Linked DNA regions of Homo sapiens: all the other regions are linked to region 1. Evidence: promoter capture Hi-C in 16 types of primary human blood cells and fetal thymus (Javierre and others, 2016). All regions are on one chromosome and are shown on one strand. The core of a region is centred on a gene start or on the middle of the fragment in contact, and the rest is flanking DNA. Distances in the headings are between cores, read along the strand shown. Region 1 holds the start of CRTC3 (CREB regulated transcription coactivator 3). Region 2 has its middle 4.7 kb from the start of IQGAP1. Region 3 overlaps CRTC3-AS1 (CRTC3 antisense RNA 1).

The links. Contacts are between HindIII fragments. The CHiCAGO score rates a contact against its expected background, and 5 or more counts as called.
Region 2: a fragment that was not itself captured here is called in contact with the fragment with the promoter of CRTC3 in region 1 in 3 of 17 cell types (total B cells, activated CD4 T cells and naive CD4 T cells); the score reaches 6.2 in total B cells.
Region 3: a fragment that was not itself captured here is called in contact with the fragment with the promoter of CRTC3 in region 1 in 2 of 17 cell types (activated CD4 T cells and naive CD4 T cells); the score reaches 6.7 in activated CD4 T cells.

The regions. Positions count from the first base shown.
Region 1 is chr15:90,528,117-90,531,793 of GRCh38, forward strand. CRTC3 (CREB regulated transcription coactivator 3) reads left to right here and starts at 1,807. Exons shown (of 15, transcript NM_022769.5): 1 at 1,807-2,087. The coding sequence starts at 1,956. RefSeq lists silencers at 1,261-1,310, 1,411-2,160, 2,181-2,360 and an enhancer at 2,751-2,910. The HindIII fragment of the contact is 15,096 bases long and covers 1-3,677 here.
Region 2 is chr15:90,381,696-90,385,372 of GRCh38, forward strand. No RefSeq gene overlaps it. Among named protein-coding and RNA genes, the nearest start is that of IQGAP1, 4.7 kb to the right of the region's middle. The HindIII fragment of the contact is 1,603 bases long and covers 960-2,562 here.
Region 3 is chr15:90,664,184-90,667,860 of GRCh38, forward strand. The region is part of intron 2 of CRTC3-AS1 (CRTC3 antisense RNA 1); the gene reads right to left. It overlaps LINC01585 (long intergenic non-protein coding RNA 1585), which reads left to right. Exons shown (of 3, transcript NR_120371.1): 3 at 172-771. Among named protein-coding and RNA genes, the nearest start is that of LINC01585, 5.8 kb to the left of the region's middle. RefSeq lists enhancers at 575-624, 665-924 and a silencer at 1,105-1,484. The HindIII fragment of the contact is 7,376 bases long and covers 1-3,677 here.

The sequences.
Region 1 (3,677 bases), core at 557-3,056:
GGCACAAGAATCACTTGAACTCAAGAGGCAGAGTTTGCAGTGAGCTGAGATCAGGCCACTGCACTCCAGCCTGGGTAACAGAGCAAGACTCCGTCTCAAAAACAAACCAACAACAAAAAAAAAGCATGGTAAATAACACAAAATACAACAGAAAAAAAAATCCAATTATAATTAATAAAAATAGCTAAATTCTAGCTAACAGAGATATATTTTCAGAATACATTTTCTAAAAAGTCCAGTTATAGGCTATGTCTGAGAGACAGGTGAAAAACATAATGGAATATTATCATATAAATGAATTGACACAAATATATCTCGAAAACATAATGGAGAATGAAAAAAGATGCAAAATGATTATTCAGTATGGTGTCATTTTTGTAAAGTTTAAAAACAAAATTAGGTATTCCATATAGCATTGCTGGATCTCTACATCATATGTAATAAAAGTATAAAAACACAAACTGGAATGATATGTACCAACTTGAGCACGGTGACTATCTGTGGGGCGGAAGAAGAAATGAGAGTGGGGCCGTCGTTATGACTAATTTTGTATGTCTTTAATAAATCCCAAGTACATGCAGCAAAATGTATTGATGTCTGTTTAATCTTGATAGTGGGGGGCGTGGGTAGTATTAATATTATTTTCCGTACTCTTCCGTAGGCCTCTAATATTTCCCTCTTTACAGAACACTGACACACGCTCAGGGCTCCCCGGGACATCTTTGTGCACATCAACATTTATGCTGAGAGTAGCTTCTGGACTCCAAAGAGGAAACTCCCCGGGCACTGTGGCCCACGCCTGTTATCCCAGCACTTTGGGAGGCTGAGGTGGGCAGATCGCTTGAGCCCAGGCGTTCGAGACCAGCCTGGGCAAAATAGCGAGACCCACCCCCGCCCCCCATTGCTACAAAAACATTTACAAACTAGCCGGGCGTGGTGACCCCCGCCTGTGGTCCCAGCTGGTCGGGAGGCTGAGGTGGGAGGATCTTTTGAGCCCGGGAGGTCAAGGCCGCGGTGAGTCGAGATCGCACCACTACACTCCAGACCGGGCGACAGAGAAAGACATCCATTCACTCCCCCAAAAGAAGGGGAAATTCGCTGAGGCTGAGCGCTGGTTTCCCAAGGTGGGGCTGGCACCTGCTGAAGCTGCCACAGGAGTGGAGAGGCCGTAGGGAGACTTGGAAAGAACCTGGAAAGGGGGCCGGGGCTATGGAGCCAAGGCTGCAGCAGGGCTGGATGGTGTTTGTAGTTTGTGCAGAATAGGAGGCAGTTTTTAAAGCCGAGATACAGCTCTGGTTGACTGGAGCGGGGAGGGGTGGGTGTGAGAGGTCAGGAAACCAGCGGCTGGAGGCCGGGGGCCTGGAGCGGCAGGGCTGGCGGGCAGACGTTAGGCCCCAGGCAAAATGGGCGCACCCCCTGCGGGGGCCCGAGGTGACCTGCTCGAGGTCCGGTCGCCCAGGTTCCACCTGGAGAAGAAAATCTTCGTAATTTGGCTGGGGGAGGGGGGATGCGGGCACAGGCTGTGTTCTCCACGTCGCGTAGACGCAGAGGCCATCCCTGGGTCGGAGAGTCTCCGTGGAGTGGCACCCCAGCGTTCCCCGTACGCCGGGGCCACTTTGTCGGGCTGACGGGGGTCCCTCCAGGTGGCCGCCGGCGGCGGGTCCCGAGCCAGACCGGGAAGCGGGGAGCAGCCCTCAGCCCGCGAGCGTGGGGCCGGGGCAGACTGGAGGCCGGGCGGGCCCCGCCGAGGGTGGGGCGGGGCCGGGCGCACGGGGGCGGACCTCGGCGCGCTCCCGGCCGCTCGCTGGCTCCGGGGCCGCGGCGGCTCCTCTGCCGGGTCGCGCCGGACGACTGGCTTCGGGCGGCGGCCCCGGCGGCCTGTGGACGGACGGGTGGGCCGAGGTACAGGCCCCACGGCCGCCGTCTCCCGCTTCTGCCCGCGCAGAGTCCGCGCCATGGCCGCCTCGCCGGGCTCGGGCAGCGCCAACCCGCGGAAGTTCAGTGAGAAGATCGCGCTGCACACGCAGAGACAGGCCGAGGAGACGCGGGCCTTCGAGCAGCTCATGACCGACCTCACCCTGTCGCGGGTGAGGGCCCGGGCCGGCGCGGGCGGGGGCGGCCACGGCCGCGGGCGGGACCCGCGCGGCGGGTGAGAGGTTGCGGGGCCAAGGCGATGGCGGGGCCGGGCGGGGGCCGCGCCCGGGAACCGGCGGCTGGGAGGGGGACCGGAGCGGCCGCGGCCTCGGCGTTTCCCCGCCTGGCGACACCCGCTAGCCGTTCGCGATCCCGGGCTGAGGTGGGAGGGTCGCCCGGCCCCGTGTGCGGGAAGATGGGCAGGGGTGAAGCCCGTGGAGGCGGGCGGCCGTGCGAGGGCGGCCTGAGGGGGAGGAGGACGAGGAGCCCCGAGAGGAAATCGCAAACAGCTCGGAGGCCGGCCGGGTGGCGCGGCGCGGCTTCTGGTCGCTCCGAACATCCCCCACCATCGAGCCCTGCTGTTCTGCCGGCGTGGAAGGCCGCGGGCACCCCAGGGTCCCACGCGCTCGTGGGGGGAGCTCTGTGCACAAGTCCATCCAGGGCCCGGCCCTGGGGTGGCTCGGGTTGTTGGAACCACGACGGGATTCCGTGTCGAGTGTGAGGCTCTGCTCCTTTTACTCCTTGGAGGTGCTTTATCGGGTCCAGTTTACTTTGTTCGGCCCGGGATATTTAGTGAGAACTGACAAGCGTCGCTGGTGACTGGAGAGGGACCTGGAGGAATGAGTAAGGCGCGAGCCGGGACAAACACCTGGAGAGGTTAGGTAACCGCTGAGTGAGGCAGTGGAGGATGGAGAGCCAACCGGAGTGTCCGCGCAGGGTTGCAGAGAAGGGGGGTCAGCAGGAGTGGGGCTGGCCTTGAGGATCCTGAATGCTGACCTTGGAGGACCATCGGGAGGATGGGGGAGGATCTGCAGATTCTGGGGGACTGAGGCGGGGGAGACAGTTTGAAGGAGAGCTGAGAGCAGAGTTGCAAACCAGCTGAGTTGCAGACACATTATTTTTTGGCCAGCGCAGTGTTTGGGAAAAATTATTGAATCTGTTGCCAGAATTTTTAAATTGGAAGACTTCCACACAAAATCCAAATTTCCGTATTATTTATTTATTATTATTTATATATGTTAAAAATTGGGAGACCTGGTAACACTAATTCTGAATTCCTACATGACAGCTACCGACCTGCTGGAGCTGGGTGATGATGAAAGGGAGCTGAGCTGAGCTCCCTTTCAAATGGAGTAAGAACTCTAGTTTGCCACCGTCCACTCTCTGTCACAGTCCCCCAAGGGGAGATTAGGTGACAGTTGCCATTTATACTCATGATGGTGTTTTCTTTCAGTGAAGTTAAGGAAAAAGTGAAATATTTCCTGTACTTACATTTCTGTTCACATTGAGAAAAAATATATATATAGAGAGAAAGAAGCTGAAGATTTCAAGAAAATGTTTTCTTATACCCTATCAGCTTCACTCATTTTTTACCTGCCTGGCATCCACTGGCATTTACATCTGTGACCTTGGTTAGATTCAGAGATGAACTCGATAAGCTCAGAGCACGTTGAAAAGAATGGGTGGGTGAAAGCTGAGGATTAGTGTTGGGGCCTGTGTTGTTATGTGTTTTTAAATACATACTGTACATTGTTTATGTACAA
Region 2 (3,677 bases), core at 511-3,010, 150 kb before region 1:
TTAATTTTGCCTGGGGAGTAGGTGACATTTGAATTGGGTCTGGGAGGTTCAGTAGGAGTTTCCCAGGCAGATAATAGGCTAAAAGGTATTCCAAGCAAGGGAAACTTCTATTATGGTGCTTATCTCAAGATATCCTGTTAATATTGCTTGACTCCTCCTGGCTTGTAAATTCTTTGTGGTCATTAACCAATTTTGACTCCCAAAATGACCATTTACCTCATTATTTTGCCGTTTATTCATTTCATATTTACTAATTTTATTCATATTTATATTTGCTGACAAAATAGTATTTCCAGCAGCTCATTTTAAATACAGACAAGCAAGCAAGCAAACCCCACACAAATCCAGTGTAATAGCACTGCCTGGAGAAGCCACTGTTAATATATTGGTGTATATACTTCAAGGCTTTATCTATTCATATGCACATATCCATCAATGTATCTATCTATCTAGCTACATTTAAAACAAAATGGTATCATATTTATTAGTCATAATTTGATATATTAACTTAACCACAATATTAAAATATTGTACTGCCAGCCTGTACATTTTTTGCCTGCCCAGCCTCCCACTGAAGGAAATTATGCCCAGCTCATAGTTCTCTATGCTTAATTATCTGTATCTCCTGATCATAGTTGATTGAAGTAAAGGATCAGCATCCAATCTAAGGGCAGCCTGCCTGTGGGTGGTCAGAGATTTACCCACAGGGTGGAAAGCTGAGCTGGGTCAATCATATGCCACTCTATGGGTTATGGAGTTAGGCAATTGAGATGATCCTCAATGGAGCTGATGATGTAAGGATACCATGACCTTCAGTCAAAGCCATGGCAAGGCAAGCAGAAACAAGAGTTGTGAGGGAACAGAAAAAATTAAATGGAGTAAGCTGGTTAGCAAAGAGTGGAGAGTAGAGCCAGCCTGTGGAAAAGCAGAGATGCCCAGAGAATGAAACCATGACTTCAAGCTTTCATTAGTCCTGTTTTTTTTTGTTTAGTGTAGTTTTGTTTTTGGTGCAGTTCCAGTCCATATAGGTCTGTATAAGAAAGGCCTCCCTTCCAGCCTTTTTTCCTCTAGAAGTAAAACTGTGCATGTCTGTTTCCTGTAGCCAGTCAAGCCTGACCAGACCACAGATCATCACTGTTCATGGCTATATGGCATTCTATTGTGTATAGCTGCCATCACTGATTTAAACACCTACTGATGGACATTTGAGTAATTTCCAAGGAGCATCTTCATGGATAACTTTTGCACATTTAATAAAAGCACGATATCCTTATGATACATTCCAAGAAGTGAAGTTTTTTGGTTGAAGAATAGATGCATAATGATAAGCTGGTCTTTAGAAAGACTATATTAATTTATTGCCTACTAACATTGCATAAGAGTGGTTGCTTTTTCACCCCCTTGCCAATAATATCAATTAAAAAGACAAACCAAAATGTTGCTACATATGATAGGCAAGAAGTGATATGTGGCATGTTATCTTTTCTATTTTTTTTTTTTTTGGTGATGGGTCTCACTCTGTCTACCTGGGCAGGAGCACAGTGGCGGGATCACAGCTCACTGCAGCCTCAACTCCCAGGCTCAAGCGATCCTCCCACCTCAGCCTTTTGGGTAGCATGCCACCACGCTGGGCTAATTTTTTGTATTTTCTGTAGAGACGGGGTTTTTCATTTTGCCCAGGCTGGTCTTGAACTCCTGGCCTCAAGCAATCCTCTCTCCTCTGCTTCCCAAAGTGCTGGGGGGTATAGGTGTGAGCCGTTGTGCCTGGCCAGCATGTTATTATCTTAATGTCTATTTCTCTGAATCTTGAGTTTATTGACTAGGAATTGGGCTTTGTCATTAGACAGGCCTGGGTTTGAGTTCCAGCTCTGCCTCTTGCTGTGTGGCTTCAGGTAAGTAACCCAGTTCTCCATTTTCCCAAGTGTAAAATGGACATAATGGGATTATTACAAGGATCAGCTGAGAAAATAAATGTGCAACACTTAGTATAGTAAGGTACCAGTGCAGTTGGTAACTTAACATCTCTGTGGCTTTCACCTCAGACAAACTTTGTAATTAAGTAAAGAAAGCCTTTATGGAATGAACAATTGGATTAATATGTTGGAGTTAAGAAGAAATATTTCGGCTGGGCATGGTGGCTCATGCCTATAACCCCAGCACATTGGGAGGCCAAGGTGGGCAGATCACTTGAGGTCAAGAGTTCGAGACCAGCCTGGCCAACATGGCAAAACCTCACCTCCAGTAAAAATACAAAAATTAGCCGGGTGTGGTCGTGTGCGCCTGTAAGCCCAGCTACTCAGGAGGCTGAGGCAGGATAATCACTTGAACTTGGGAGGCTGAGGTTGCAGTGAGCCGAAATCACGCCACTGCACTCCAGCCTGGGTGACAGAGTGAAACTCTGTCTCAAAAAAAAAAAAAAAAAAAGAAGAAGAAGAAGAAATATTTCACATTTTATGTATTCGCAATGTTTAAGAAAATTTGGCCGACTTGAATGACAGCTTTTTTGTAAATCATTTTAAATGTGTAATTGAGTTAGTTTTAGACTTAGGTTTTTGAGTTGAAAGCTTACTAAGTTTACACATGGAATCAGGCCATCTAAGAGAATGTTAGCTTTGTTATGCTTGTATGTTTATTTATAGGAATTACTAAGTTTTGAAAAAGTTTTAAACAATTGAATGAATTAAAAAGAAAATCTAGGCCGGGCACAGTGGTTCACGCCTGTAATCCAAGCAGTTTGGGAGGCAGAGGTGGGTGGATCACCTGAGGTCAGGAGTTCAAGACCAGCCTGGGCAACATGGTGAAATCCCGTCTCTACTAAAAATACAAAAATTAGCTGGGCGCGGTGGTGCGTGCCTGTAATCCCAGCTACTCAGGAGGCTGAGGCAGGAGAATCGCTTGAGCCCAGGAGGCAGAGGTTGCAATGAGCCAAGATTGTGCCATTACACTCCAGCCTGTGCGACAGAGTGAGACTCCGTCTCAAAAAAAAAAAAAAGTTTTGAAAAAGTTTTATACGATTGAATGAACTAAAAAGAAAATCTAGGCCAGGTGCGGTGGCTCATGCCTGTAATCTTAGCACTTTGGGAGGCCGAGGCCAGTGGATCACAAGGTCAGGAGTTTGAGACCAGCCTGGCCAATATAGTGAAACCCCATCTCTAATAAAAAAATATATATATATATAAAATTAGCCAGGTGTGGTGGCGGGTGCCTGTAATTCCAGCCACTTGGGAGGCTGAGGCAGAAGAATCCCTTGAACCCGGGAGGCGGAGGTTGCAGTGAGCTGAGATTGCACCATTGCACTCCAGCCTGGGTGACAAGAGTGAAACTCCATCTCAAAAGAAAAAAAAAAAGAAAATGTAATAGGAAATCTAATATAGACAATATAATAGGCACAATTTATTCTTTATTATTATTTTTTATTTTTATTTATTTATTTTTTTGAGATGGAGTCTCGCTCTATTGCCTAGGCTAGAGTGCAGAGGCATGATCTTGGCTCACTGCAAGCTCCGCCTCCAGGGTTCACGCCATTCTCCTGCCTCAGCCTCCCGAGTAGCTGGAATACAGGTGCCCGCCACCATGCCCGGCTAATTTTTTTTTTTTTTGTGTTTTTAATAGAGCTGGGGTTTCACCGTGTTAGCCTGGATGGTCTCAATATCCTGACCTCGTGATTCGCCCACCTC
Region 3 (3,677 bases), core at 745-3,244, 140 kb after region 1:
GCGCATGCCTGTAATCTCACCTACTCGGGAGGCTGAGGCACAAGAATTACTTGAATCCGGGAGTGAGAGGTTGAAGGGAGCCAAGATGGCCACTCCAGCCTGGGCAACAAGAGTGAAACTCCGTCTCAAAAATAAATAAATAAATAAAGACTTCTCCCAAATTTCATGCAGAAAAAATTCAAACTTAGATGATTTCCGAAGATCTTAATAATCAGGACAACCGTGAACTTCTCATGCAACCGTCAATGCCTGAGACAATGGAGTGAAAGCTACCAGATCCTTAAGAGAAAAGTGTCCCCCAGGACTCTTAAAGCCACCAGCCCTGATGTTGGCCACGGGAAAAGACAATCAAGGAAAATCTCCGACCTTCGGTGAAATGCAGAGACTAAGGGACCCCTGTGCTGCGTGTGATGCGATTTTGAGAGAAAAAAAAAAAAAAAGGCCAGGTGTGGTGGCTCACGCCTGTAATCCCAGCACTTTGGGAGGCCCAGACAGGAGGATCCCTTGAGCTCAGGAGTTAGAGACCATTCTGGGCAACATGGCAAAACCCTGTCTCTACAAAACAAAACAAAACAATACAAAACAAAACAAACAGAAAAATAGCCAGGTGTGGTGGCACGTGCCTGTGGTCCCAGCTACCCTGGAGGCCTAGGCGGGGAGATCGCTTGAGCCTGGGAGGTCGAGGCTTCAGCGAACCAAGATCACGCCACTGCACTCCAGCCTGGGCCACAGAGCAAGATTGTCTTAAAAATAAAACAAAACAAAAACTAACGGAGCCCTGAAAAGGGAGCGCAATTCATCAATCCGCTGACGGTGATGGGCCCCCTGGCCCGGTGCAGCGGACCCTTAGGTCCTGGTGGGGGAGTCGGTCAGTCAATGCATGGGTGAGCAAATGAGTGAAGCAACGCGAGCACAGCGCTGGCCCGGATCTAACTTGGCGGTGACAGCCCAGCCCCGAGCTGGACATGGCAGGCCCCTCGGCCTGGCCGTTGCCTGAGAACCCTAGGATCACAGCGTTGGGCCGGAGTGGGACAGGGCCGGGTAGCGTCCCCCGACAGAGCTGGGTCAGGGCCTTGTTGTGGCCGGGGGCAGGCCCGGCAGCTGAAAGCGTAAGACCCCCGGAGCCCGGCACAGCGCTCCTCACCACCGGGAAAGGCGGCTGGGCCTGACCGGGCTCCCGCATCCCCCCACCCCGGAGCGTGCAGCCGCCCCAAACCCCCAGCGGCCTCCGGCTTCCAGGTGAGCAGCACCGGAAGGGAGCGGCGCCGCGTCCTCACCGCCGCGGGGGGGGCTCCCCAGCCGCGTCCCCGCCGCTTCACGCCCTCCGCGTGGAAGGACGGGGGCCCGGGGACCCCTGCAAACGGCTGAGACCCCAAAGCCCGGCTCCTCTGCCCGGCTGTCCCTCCCCGGAGCTCCGGCCGCACGGCCGCTTCCGGCACCGAGGACGCCCCGGGCTCCAGCGTTCAGCCTGCGTTTCTGGACACCCGGGATGCGCAGGGGGTTGGACAGGACCGCCCCAAACCTGCGTCGTGGGGCTTCGCCCTCCTGAGATCACCCAGGCAGCCTGTGCGCGGCCCCACCACAGCGCCTGAGGCGGCACCGCCTGAGCGCGTTCAGAAAGTAGGCAGTACTTTTATTTTTATTCTTATTCTGAGACAGGGTCTCGCTTTGTCGCCCAGGCTGGAGTGCAGTGGAGCGATCTCGGCTCACCACAGCCTCGAACTTCCGGGCTGAAGCCATCCTTCCGAGTAGGTGGGACTACGGGCGCACGCCACCACGCCCGGCTAATTTTTAAACTTTTTGTAAAGATGGGGTCTCACTACGTTGCTCAGGCTGGTCTTGAGCTCCTGAGCTCAAGCGATCCTCCCGCCTTGGCCTCCCAAAGTGATGAGATTACAGGCGTGAGCCACTGTGCGCGGCTGGTAGTACTTTTTGTACCTTGGGGACAAAAATAAAAACCCAGGCACTTAAGTGGCACTCCTACAGCAGCAGTGACTTAATAACTGGAGATAGAAAAATAAAAAAAAATAAAAAAAAATACTGGTGTCTGAACAAAGAGACATACTTAGAAAATTGTGTTATACTGACTGACATGCCTAATTCCCATCCCTTGTGGGGCGTGGGGGGCGGAGCACTTACTCCTCACCCCCGAAACCCCTCAAAATGATAAAAATAAGTGAGCAAAACAGACCCAAAACAGCAGCCCTAGCTCCCATCATTCCCAAGCAGTTTGCTGACTGACTCACCTGGCATTTCGTGGATGCAAAGAAGAGCCCCTTCCACCAGGTGAAGAAGAAAAGGGGGTCTGGGCACTATGGCTCATGCCTGTTATCCCAGCACTTTCGGAGGCTGAGGTAGACGAATCACTTAAGGTCAGGAGTTCAAGACCAGCCCGGCCAACATGGTGAAACCCCGTCTTAACTAAAAACACAAAAAAATTTGCCGGGCATGGTGGCACCTGAGGCAGAAGAATTGCTTGAACCTGGGAGGCGGAGGTTGCAGTGAGCCGAGATGGTGCCACTGCACTCCAGACTGGGCAACAGAGTGAGACCCTGTCTAGAAAAAAAAAAAGGAGACGAGGAAGGAGAAGAAACACGTGGTTTTAGGGGGGTTTATCTGAGGGTGGCCAGGCAGCTCCTGGGAATCTGCGCTGAGGAGCAGCCAGGCCTGGGGGCAGGGATGTCCAGGGGGAGCCAAAGCAGGCCCAGCTTGCCTTCCTTTCTGTCTGCGCCTCTGTTGCTCGGTGGCATCTTTTTTCGACTGTGTCCCTGTTTCTGTCTTTCCATCTTGCCATCACTTGAATCCTGTTTGACTCTGTCTCCAACTGTCCCTGCCTCAGGACAGAAATCTCTTCTCCCTGTTTCCCCAGCTCACCTACTTTTCCCCTCTCCCCGCTGTGCAGAGCTGCTCCCTCACCTCTGCTGAAACACGTGGGTCTTTCCATGATCCAAACAAGTTTGGTGATTACACTAACTGACCCTGTCTCTGGATGTCCCCATCCAGATCCCCAGGGCAGACTGAGCAATGGGCTCAGTCTCTGGGGCACTTCCCCACGGGGCAGCTGCCCCCTCTGCCCTGTGGTTGTGTGAGCACGTGGGGTTGGAATGGGGACACAGTCCACTCTTGGGAGTGGCAGTGAGTGTGAGAGTTCTCAGCTAAAGGGCAAAACCTGGGGACACACCTCAAAAAAAAGGCTTCTATTTAGGGCAGTGAAACTACTCTGTATGATACATCCATACTCTGTATGGATGCATGTCATTGTACATTTGTCCAAACCCACAGCATGTTCAACAGCAGAGTGAACCCTAATGTACGCTGTGGACTCTGGGCAATGATGATGTGTAGGTTCATGGATTGTAAAAAATGGACTGCTCTGAGGGGATGTTAATCATCGGGGAGGCTGGCAGGGAGTACACCGGAACTCTCTGTACCTTCCTTTTTGCTGTGAACATAAACCTGGTCTAAAAAAAATTAAGTCTTAAAAAAAAATTTTAGCTGGGTGCAGTGACTCATGCCTGTAATCCTAGCACTTTGGGAGGCTGAAGGGGGTGGGTCGCTTGAGCCCAGGAGTTGAAGATCAGCCTGGGCAACAAAGTGAGACCCCCATTTCATTAAAAAATTAGCCAGGCATGGTGGCACACACTGTAGTCCCAGCTACTCGGGAGGCTTGAGTCCAG